Linked DNA regions of Homo sapiens: region 2 is linked to region 1. Evidence: promoter capture Hi-C in 16 types of primary human blood cells and fetal thymus (Javierre and others, 2016). All regions are on one chromosome and are shown on one strand. The core of a region is centred on a gene start or on the middle of the fragment in contact, and the rest is flanking DNA. Distances in the headings are between cores, read along the strand shown.

What was found. Contacts are between HindIII fragments. The CHiCAGO score rates a contact against its expected background, and 5 or more counts as called.
Region 2: a fragment that was not itself captured here is called in contact with the fragment with the promoter of RAB28 in region 1 in 7 of 17 cell types (non-activated CD4 T cells, total CD4 T cells, fetal thymus and 4 more); the score reaches 22.4 in non-activated CD4 T cells.

Annotation. Positions count from the first base shown.
Region 1 is chr4:13,482,574-13,487,062 of GRCh38, reverse strand. It overlaps RAB28 (RAB28, member RAS oncogene family), which reads left to right and starts at 2,723. Exons shown (of 7, transcript NM_001017979.3): 1 at 2,723-2,987. The coding sequence starts at 2,913. LOC105374495 (a long non-coding RNA gene) reads right to left here and starts at 2,614. Exons shown (of 3, transcript XR_925413.1): 1 at 2,109-2,614; 2 at 736-902. RefSeq lists silencers at 2,262-2,321, 2,284-2,578, 2,572-3,191 and enhancers at 2,462-2,581, 1,841-2,748, 2,544-2,838. The HindIII fragment of the contact is 2,971 bases long and covers 518-3,488 here.
Region 2 is chr4:20,701,098-20,705,941 of GRCh38, reverse strand. It overlaps PACRGL (parkin coregulated like), which reads right to left. Exons shown (of 9, transcript NM_001258345.3): 2 at 1,409-1,476; 3 at 1,128-1,282. The coding sequence starts at 1,460. Among named protein-coding and RNA genes, the nearest start is that of PACRGL, 3.1 kb to the right of the region's middle. The HindIII fragment of the contact is 483 bases long and covers 2,505-2,987 here.

The DNA.
Region 1 (4,489 bases), core at 1,474-3,973:
TTGCTTCATAAAGGAAGAAACTCCTTGAATGTGGACGTATTCAAATAAGGTTTGAATAATTATCTGTTAGAGATGCTATAAAAGATATTTTATACAATGTCTAGAATTCTTATAAACCTTTTGTCTATTAGTTTTAAAATGACTGAAGACCATTCCTCTAATTTTTGACCCTGTTAAGAGCATTGTACATGAGAATCCACAAAGATATATTCTTTTTGGTGGATCAGCTCTATGTTTCTTTAGTATGTCAGAGTATCATACTGGAAGCTCTCAATGCTAAAATGGTCCTCCTCACATAGAAAGTTTTTTTTTCTTTTTCTTTATAAAAATGGCTCTAAGTCTTTAAATTCTAACTTTTAACCCAGAAACTTGCCATATGTGTAAAATATGATCCCTAAAATAGTGCAACTTTTTGTTTTATATAACACTATCCTATTGATGTACCCATATCCAAATGAATGTTGTCTCTCAATCAAAGCAGTCATCTCAGAAATTGATGAGTGGAAAATGAGAAGCTTTCTTCTAGATTTCCCTTCATATAAAACCACATATGAAAATCAGGCCTATGAGTTCAGCTAAATCTAGTTTTTGGCCGAAGTAGTTATGTCAGTTGGAATTTTTTTGTTTGTAGGTAACACAATTCATCGCCAAAGTACCATATTATTATTTCCCATAACAAGAAACCGAGAAGATAGAGTGAACAAAGTGTAGTAGTTCCAAAAATCCTGTTCTTACCTAATAATGACAGCAAAGGAAGGGAGGAGGAGGACTCCCCTGTAACTCTCCTTTTTTCTTTTCCTTTTTTTTAAATGGTGGGGGGAGGGTTCTTTTACAAATGTCTTCCAAAGGACACTGTCTTCTGTCTCATTAGTCCGGTGGATCACATAGCTATCTAAGGAAGACTGGAAAAGAAATTTTCTTGCATTTTAACTGCCCTCATGGACAAGAAGTGGTTAAGTCTGTCCTCACTGGAAGTAGATTCTTCTCACTAACAAGTACATATCCTCTTTCTTCTAATTCTTATGAATAAATCTGGTGAATAGAAAATTGGTGGTGGCAATGGTGGTGCGGGATTGGGGAAAGAATTGGGTACTAATACTTAACTGGGTACCTATAATTGTGGGCCAGCCCTCTCTGCAGATGAAGAGACTGAGGCTCTACATAAGAAACTTGTATAAGGTAAATTGGCTAGAAAGTAGTGACACTTCCAACACGGACCATCATCTAATTATGATGATGATGAGGGTGATAGTTACACTGGTTAATATTGAGTGCTTACTACACACCAGGCATTGTGCTATCTACTTTATGCCGATTATTTCATTTAATTTTCAAACCTACACAAAGGCAGTAGTCTGTTCTACAGGTGAACTAACTGAGGCTCGAGGACACATATCTAGTAAACATGAGATTAAACTCCAGTGATGCCTCTAGGTCTGGGCATTTCTTTACACTGTTCTGCTTTCCTGTTCTAATGCCCATATGGTCTCCAAGACTACTGCCTCTGGGCTAAGCATTTTGTTAACTTAAGATACTTCATCTGCAAAATGGGGATAATTATACTTCATAATTCCTAATAGTAGTAAAGGTAACAATAAATTTTAAGTGATTAACAATGAAACAACCATAGCAGGACAGCATTATTATTTTTGAATTTACCTCACTAAATTGTAAATTTCATTTATGCCGTTTACCTAACGCTCCTGGACTGAGATTATCCAGGGCAGCAGTTCTTAAATTTTTTGGACTCAGGGCCTCTCTATAATGTTAAAGAATTACTGTGACCTCCAAAGAGCTTATGTTTATGTGGGTTACACCTATCACTACTGCATTGAAATGAAAACTGAGAAATGTTTAAAAACAACAAACGCAAGCTCCCTTAGCTGCCAGTGATGACGTCGTACACAAAGCGTATCCTCCAGGAAACGGTATACTAGTGAGAGAAGGAACGTGAGAAAGACAGACAAGGTGTCCGTATTATTATGAAAATTGTTCTGAGGTCATCGGGATTTCCAGAGGTCCCTAGACCACACTTTATGAGAACTGCTGCCTTAGGGTAAAGATGGGGTGCCAGGAGGTTGGCGATCAGTAGCGTCTGATGAACGAACCATGGGAGCCTGGGGTTGTTCAGATGAGGAAACCAAGAGTTAGGCCGAAATAAGCAGCGCCGGAGCTCCACTGTATTCACGGCCGCTACTGAGGCTTCCCAGCAGCCTCGGCCCTTAGCAGCTGTCCCCTCATCCGCCCCGAGGTACCCTCTTCCCTGGTCCGGTTTTTCAGGGGCCCTCTCTGGCGCTCTCCGCCAGGCTACGGGCGTCCCGGGTGCCCGGAGACAGGCCCCGCCCCGCCGCCGGTCCTCGAACTCCTGGCTGCCAGGCAACCCTGGCGCGTAGCCCGGGCGTCACTGCTCCACCCCGTCAGGCTGAACCATTCCCTTCAGAGACTTTCTCAAGAGGGAAGGAGAAAAGGGAATTTGATGGAACGCCTGAAAGCTGCTCTGCTCCCGTTTTCTCTCCTTAATTTGAACGAACACTTCTTTTCTTCTTCTAGCCAACTGTCTCCTGAAGGGAAACGCAGCGCCTCGCCTCTCCCGCCGGAATGTCCCCCACACCAGTCCAGGGCCGCGAGTGGTTCGGCTCGTCAGGCGGGGCCGCCGGTCGGCGCGGGTTGGCTCTGAGGCGGGGGCGCGCGCCCGACGTGCGCGTAGGGGGCGGGGCCGCGCGCAGAGGGCGGGGAGGTGGGCAAGATGGCGCTTGCCGAGTGATTCTCCTCGAATACCTCCTGCCGGCGCGGAGACACCGGGGCGGGGGTCCTGCCGCAACTACCTCCCTTCCTCCTCTCCCCCGCCCCCGGAGCCTTCATCCTTCCCTTCCCCCCCCACCTCGAGGGGCGGGCCTGGTTCCCGGGACACCATGTCGGACTCTGAGGAGGAGAGCCAGGACCGGCAACTGAAAATCGTCGTGCTGGGGGACGGCGCCTCCGGGAAGGTCAGTCCTCGAGCAGGCCCGCCGTCCCAGGCCTGCAGGAACCCCGGCGGTCCCCGGCCTCCTCCCCGCCGCCCGGCGTCGCCTCGTTACCCCGAGCCCTCGGGCTTCTAGGCCCGGGCCCTTCTGGTTGTGTGGCCTGAGGCCGGACACGAAGTGGGCGCTTGGTGAAGGCCGACGAGAGCTGTCCAGCTCCCCCTTAAAAAAGAGTCACTTCCTAACTCCCCGCCTGGATTGCGAACTCCTGCAAGACTCGGGCCAGCCTTTCAGCTTCCCGCCTCTCAGGACTGGCAGGGATTTGCCAAGGCATCTTAGCTCCTCTTACTTGTAGTCTGGGTCACACTTACTCCTCCCCTCCCACCCCCTTTACCGTTTCTGATGCTTCTACTGCATCGTGAGCTCCCAGGAGCGTAGCTCTGGAATCAGTATTCCCCGGGTGAGAATTGGGGCTCTGCCACTTAGTCGTCGGGTCATTGGAGGGCAAATTGCTAATCAGTTTAAGCTTCATCTGTAAGATGGGTATTGAAAAGGGCCGCCGCAAAGGGAGAAATGTGAAAATACATATTAAATGTGAAAATACACATAAAACCTTTAGAGCACAGTGTCCACTCAGTACACTCTAGTTGCTATTTTAATATCATACCTGTTCATCACCTCTGTTTCCAGCTCAGCACTCGATACAAGCAGTCAGTCAACAAGTGTTTATGGAGCTCCTGTTACGGGTAGGATGCTGAGGGTAGAGCTGCTTGCGTGACAAAAGGGATCCCCTGTTCGAATGAATGAATGCGGGCGTGAGAATATCAGGCAGCGTCAGTCTTATTATCTCCTAGGCAGGGGCTCCTACCCCAAGGCTGTGGAACTCCTGAAATGGAGTAAATACTGCCCGGTACGTGCTCTGGGGAGAGGGTCCATAAGATCTCAGAGGGGTCTATGATCCCTCCACCAGCAAATAGTGAAGAGCCTCTACCCGGATGCCTTCTTTCCCATGCTTCTGTCAAAGGCGCCAACACTTTCTGGGAATATTGCTAAAGTTTATCACCCCTGTACTCCCCTTCCTTATCCCAACCATAGTCTAAAGAAACCCAGGCTTTTATTTCCTGTTTAAGGCTTCACATTTCCCTGTTGCTGGTTGCATTTCGGACCCTGGTTTCTCTGGTGACGACTTCTCTTTGCATCCTCCCTGACAGTTGGCACTGCCCAGATACCTGCTTCTGCCTTTGGTTCTGACATTTGAGTTTCGAGGTCACCTGGGAAAGATGTAAAATTTTATATGCAAAATTTGAAGTATTTTTTTGTTTCTTTCTTGTCTTCTTGGATCCTTTGTTACAGATTTTTAAAGCTGAGGAAAACAATATGCTCTGATTACCTTTAAACGTTGGGGGAAGAAAGGAACTTGGGGTAACTTTTCTTTATAAAGTATATTAATTTTTGTATACTTAGTAAACTTTTCGAATGAATGAATTGCTATAAATAAATCATTGTTTCTAACACCTTTATTCAATAAA
Region 2 (4,844 bases), core at 1,497-3,996, 7.2 Mb before region 1:
TCAACAGAGTTGAAAAATCTGAAAGTTTCCAGCACACTAGATGCCTCCACTGCCTCTCCCAAATCCCTGCCCACCTTTCGCCCCAAAGGTGAACATTATTCTGACTTCCAACTCATTTGTTTTATATTGGTAGCTTTTACACATGCTTTTCTCGGGTCAAATTATTTAACTATTTCCCAAAACTTTCCTCGATTTTTACTAAAACTTAGGACTAAGGTCACTAAATATTATTAATTCAAAAAGTACTTCTTTAAAGAGAGGAAGAAAATTGAAGCGTCACCGTAAACTCCCTCAACTAAACATAAGCAAAGGAAGTGAGAGCAACAAGATTATTAGGGCCTTCTTCAGGTATTCAATTTCCTTGACACTGTAGATTACAGAAAAAAGCAAAGGAACATAGCCGCTCAAACTATTTGTCACTTTGCTTTTATCCAGTCGGACACTCCTTCTGTCTTGGAGAGCTCACTATACCTTTGCTTCCTTAAGTAACTGCCATACCCCTACCTACCACCACAGTCAGTCAGGAGCTTCAGCCACCCTCACAATCCCCTTCGAAGGCTGAAATCACTAACATCTCACCCTACCAAAGTTGGGCATGGGGCAAATAACACCTGGTGTTGTTGCACAGGTGTGTTCACTTCTGAATATTTTTACTGCATAAATCCCATGTTTATTAAATCTCATTAAATTGTTAGGAGAGGGCAAAGGAGGTTAGTACTACAACTAGGATTTCTGGTGGAACTAATTTACAGAACACAGGAAAGGTCAGAGACCTTTATGCAACTATAGAAGCACGAAAAGCATTCTGTGGCAACTGAATACAGTTTATTCATTGATATGGGGAAGTAAAACAACACTGCAAATAAAATCTAAAGCTAAAGTGCAATTTTCTATGCACTACAATGCGATATCCCAAACAGGTTAACTTCTATGTCTCCTTACCTCCATACTCACTCCCACATGTGACTGATTATCTCAGTTCTTCATCATAATAACCACATGCCCTTCTCTCATTATTAGCTCAAAACTAGCAAAGGGACAAAACTCAACACAGCATCCAGCATTGTTCAATACTGTGCGAAATGCCTTTAAAAAATCTACTGAGTTAGGAATAGTTTTGGACCTACCGGATTAATTGTTTTAGGGTTCAGTTTATCACTTGGTCTAGGATGAAGTTTTCTTGCAGACTCTGGAGAACTGGTTGACAATGAGGATTTGCTTCCCTGAACTGCATTCCTGTGTTTTAACTGTGTGCTTGATGATGTCCTTTGATCATAGTTACCTGGAAAAAAACAGAACATCAATAGAAACCAGGTACAAGCAATAAAGTTCACCCTGCATCCATCTGTAGCACAGAAAGTGCCATGAACAAACTTGACCTCTTCACTTAAAAACAAAAGCTCTGTACCTGTTGCTCTGTTTTTCAACTGTGTACCTCCAGAGCCCTCTGATTTCTGCATTGCTTCCCTTTCACTCCTGCAGTTTAAAAAAAAAAAAGTTGATTTCAAAATTTGTTTGGAGGGGCATTTGTTATCAATAAAAAGACAAAACCAGAACAGAGTATACAATACAGTAAAAGACACACAAAAAAGTTGATATGGAGCAAAATACTGGAAAAGACTAATGAGAAAACATGAAATTATGTCAACTTCAATAGTATCAATAACAGCAAAATAATCATCTCCAAGAAATGATGTACAAAAGTCAACTTTTTTTCCATTCAAATTGTCAAAATAAACTGTTAGAAACTCACTTCCAATTCTCTGACCACATTAGAAAACACAGACTAGATTTCTGAAAGGAGTGGTTGGTACATTCCCTGTCATCTTCTCCATCTTCTCTGGCCTCTGTATTTCCAAAGCTCCAAATGTTAACATGTGCACATCAAGCTCTACTTTTCCAGTGACATAATGAACTCTCCTACCCAATGTATCACAAGCTCCTTAAACTGAATGTAACTAAAACTGAGGTTGTCACACTGAAGTTATTATGAACCCCTTGTTAACCCAGGGTACCACCAGTTTTCTGGTCCTCAGACTGAAAAACTTAGAATCACCATTGTCTCCTTTTCCTTCATTTCCTACACTCAATGCTACACGTGATGAGAAAGAAAGAGCTTTGGGCTCAAATATGGGTCTGCATCTCAGTTCTACCAATTATGAAATTTATGAATTTAGGCAGATTATTTAACCTCCCTAAACCTCGACTTCCTGACCTGTTTAAAGAGGGAAATAAAAGCCTGTCAAGGTTTTCTGGAGGTGCAAATGAAATTATCTCTCAAGTTACTCACCCAGGGAATACTGGTTCACTTTTCCCTTACACAGTTGCTTTTTTTCTGCTAATGGAGGACTCTAGTTCATACCCCAAGGTTTCCAGCTAATCCAATCAATTTCTACAATTGTATCTCTAGCAAGAAATACACACACACAAACACACACACACACACACACACACACACACACACTCATATACCCAAGTGCCTACTGGTATTTTTAGGCCAAGCTTCATTCCCAACTTCCATGAAGCCTTTCCTCATCTTGGTTTCTCAAATGTGTATTTCTATGGCATTGATTTCTATCCTGTGTCCTTATTTCTACTTGATTACTCTGTTCCCTCACTTCCACGACAATCTAGTTATTCTATTAGCACACGTCTCATTTTAATGCCTTTAATAATGACTGCCTCTCAAGTATAGTGTAAGATCTTCCCTTAGGACAACACAGGTAAAGTCCTCTTCCACCTCCAAATGACACTTTTTCAAATATTTGATGGCATTAACTCTTAACTCCTTCATTTTTTCTTCTTCAGGATAAACACTGATACTTTTTAAAATGATTCCTCACATGAAATGCTTTTAATCCACTTAACAAGTTAGAAATCCTCAAAAGGAGGACAAAGCTCCATGTTATAAAATTTAGCCAGATATCTCAAACATGATGTACCAGCTTAAAGTCTGATACCATGTAAAGATAACCTAAATGTAAGCTTGCTTCTGCACACTGAATAATTTCAATTTCCTTGATTTAGTACATTGATCTCATTTATCTCATCCCACTACCAGCAGATGACTTACTTCCCAGTATCACACTTCACCTCCATTCCCAGGGCCATTTTCTAATACTACGGTAATTAAAATCTCATTAAAGTTGTCAGATAATAGTCTAAAATAAGCTGAGAGAAGCTTTAAATATGTTAACCTACTATTGTACTTCTGTGATCATTCAACAAGTATTTAATATTGTGCCTGACTTCTGTTTTGAGAAGCTCCTGGAGGGGGAACAACACAAGTTTCTATTGAAAAAAAAAATGCATCAGTTTCCTCAACTCTATAATTGGGCATAATTACAGGAACTACTTTAAGTGTTGATGAAGACTAGTAAGAATATATGTAAAACAACATTTCCATAATGGGAGGCATGCAGTAAGGGCCACATGAGTCTTAGCTATTATTATAATTTTCTTTACAATGGTACAAAGTGTTCTTCAGTATTACTATTACTAATAGTGAAACCACATGTTTTGTCATTTTTAAAAAATCTGGCTTAACATCTTGGGCTACATCAATTTGAAGACCAGCTGAGGTCCAATTTCTCTTGATCATCAATTGTTAACAGCTGCAACAGATAAAAGCGATGCACAGCAAAGACGCGTACCCACAAACATAACAAGGGCACAGGCAGCCATATCAAATTATGATGCACATTTTTCAATACTACCTACCAATTCAGTGGAAGTTTTGGATGGAATTTTATGGCTAAATTTCTATCTTCCTTCACGTCAAAAAGTTGTTCCTGTAACAAACTAATGGGGAGGTGTTGCATTATATTTTGAATGAGTTCAAAAAGTCACCAAAACTCATTTGAAAAAGTTTTAAACATGGTAGAAAATCGAGCTTCTACAGTTTATGAGTATACAGGACAACTTTTATGTACAATATATAATTTTCAGCATTAAACATACAGTAATGCAAACACGTCTACATCCCCTTTCAAAATCCTGTATTAGAGAATTTCCTTCCAAAACAATTGCTTTTTCACTTAAAATTTTTATCCTTTACCTTAACGACAAATTACAGTTGGCTCTCCGTATATGCGGGTTCCACATCTATAGATTTGACCCAACCACGGATACGGAGAGCAGACTGGAGGACTTTGGCATGGGTGGATTTGGGTATCTGAAAGAGACTGGGGGGAGGGAGGGAGTCCTGGAGCCAATTCTCCACGGACACCAAGGGACGACGGGAAATGTAGTCAATTTTTTAAAATAATATCCACCTGGAAGCATGCCACTGACAAGCCTGGAGCATGAGTTGTTTGTGAAAGCAAGCTTTAAAAATCTTATCCTTGGTAACCCTTTCAAGTGGTTTTTCATTAAATAACATGTAGAGGATGGTGTAAAGGGGCAGTGATGGGGAGAAGCGAACCTGTAAGAACTATTTTGTGTTACAAATATTATCAAGGTCACCGCTCATTCTTTTACAAAACAAGATAAACATTCTAATTATAGATATTAGAATCCATAAATCCACTTAACTTCGAACACCTAAACTATGTCACAATATCAGAAAGCAAACAAACCACCCTATGAAGCCCACACATTCCCCTTAAAGCTTCCTTGGTTGCTACAGGTCATCTATCTACAAGGGACTGCCGGTATCTGTGTCAATGGTAGGAAAGTGTACTTTCTATCATTGTTTGGGCAGCTGATATAGCCTATTTCTTTCCCTGTATGTACTTTCTCCCGTACTCAGCTTTAAGACCACTGAACTAAAACAATTCTCAGTCAGCAGAGCCCTGCTTTCTAATCCAGGTCTAGAAAGTTCCAAACGTGTAAGTAAGAGCCCC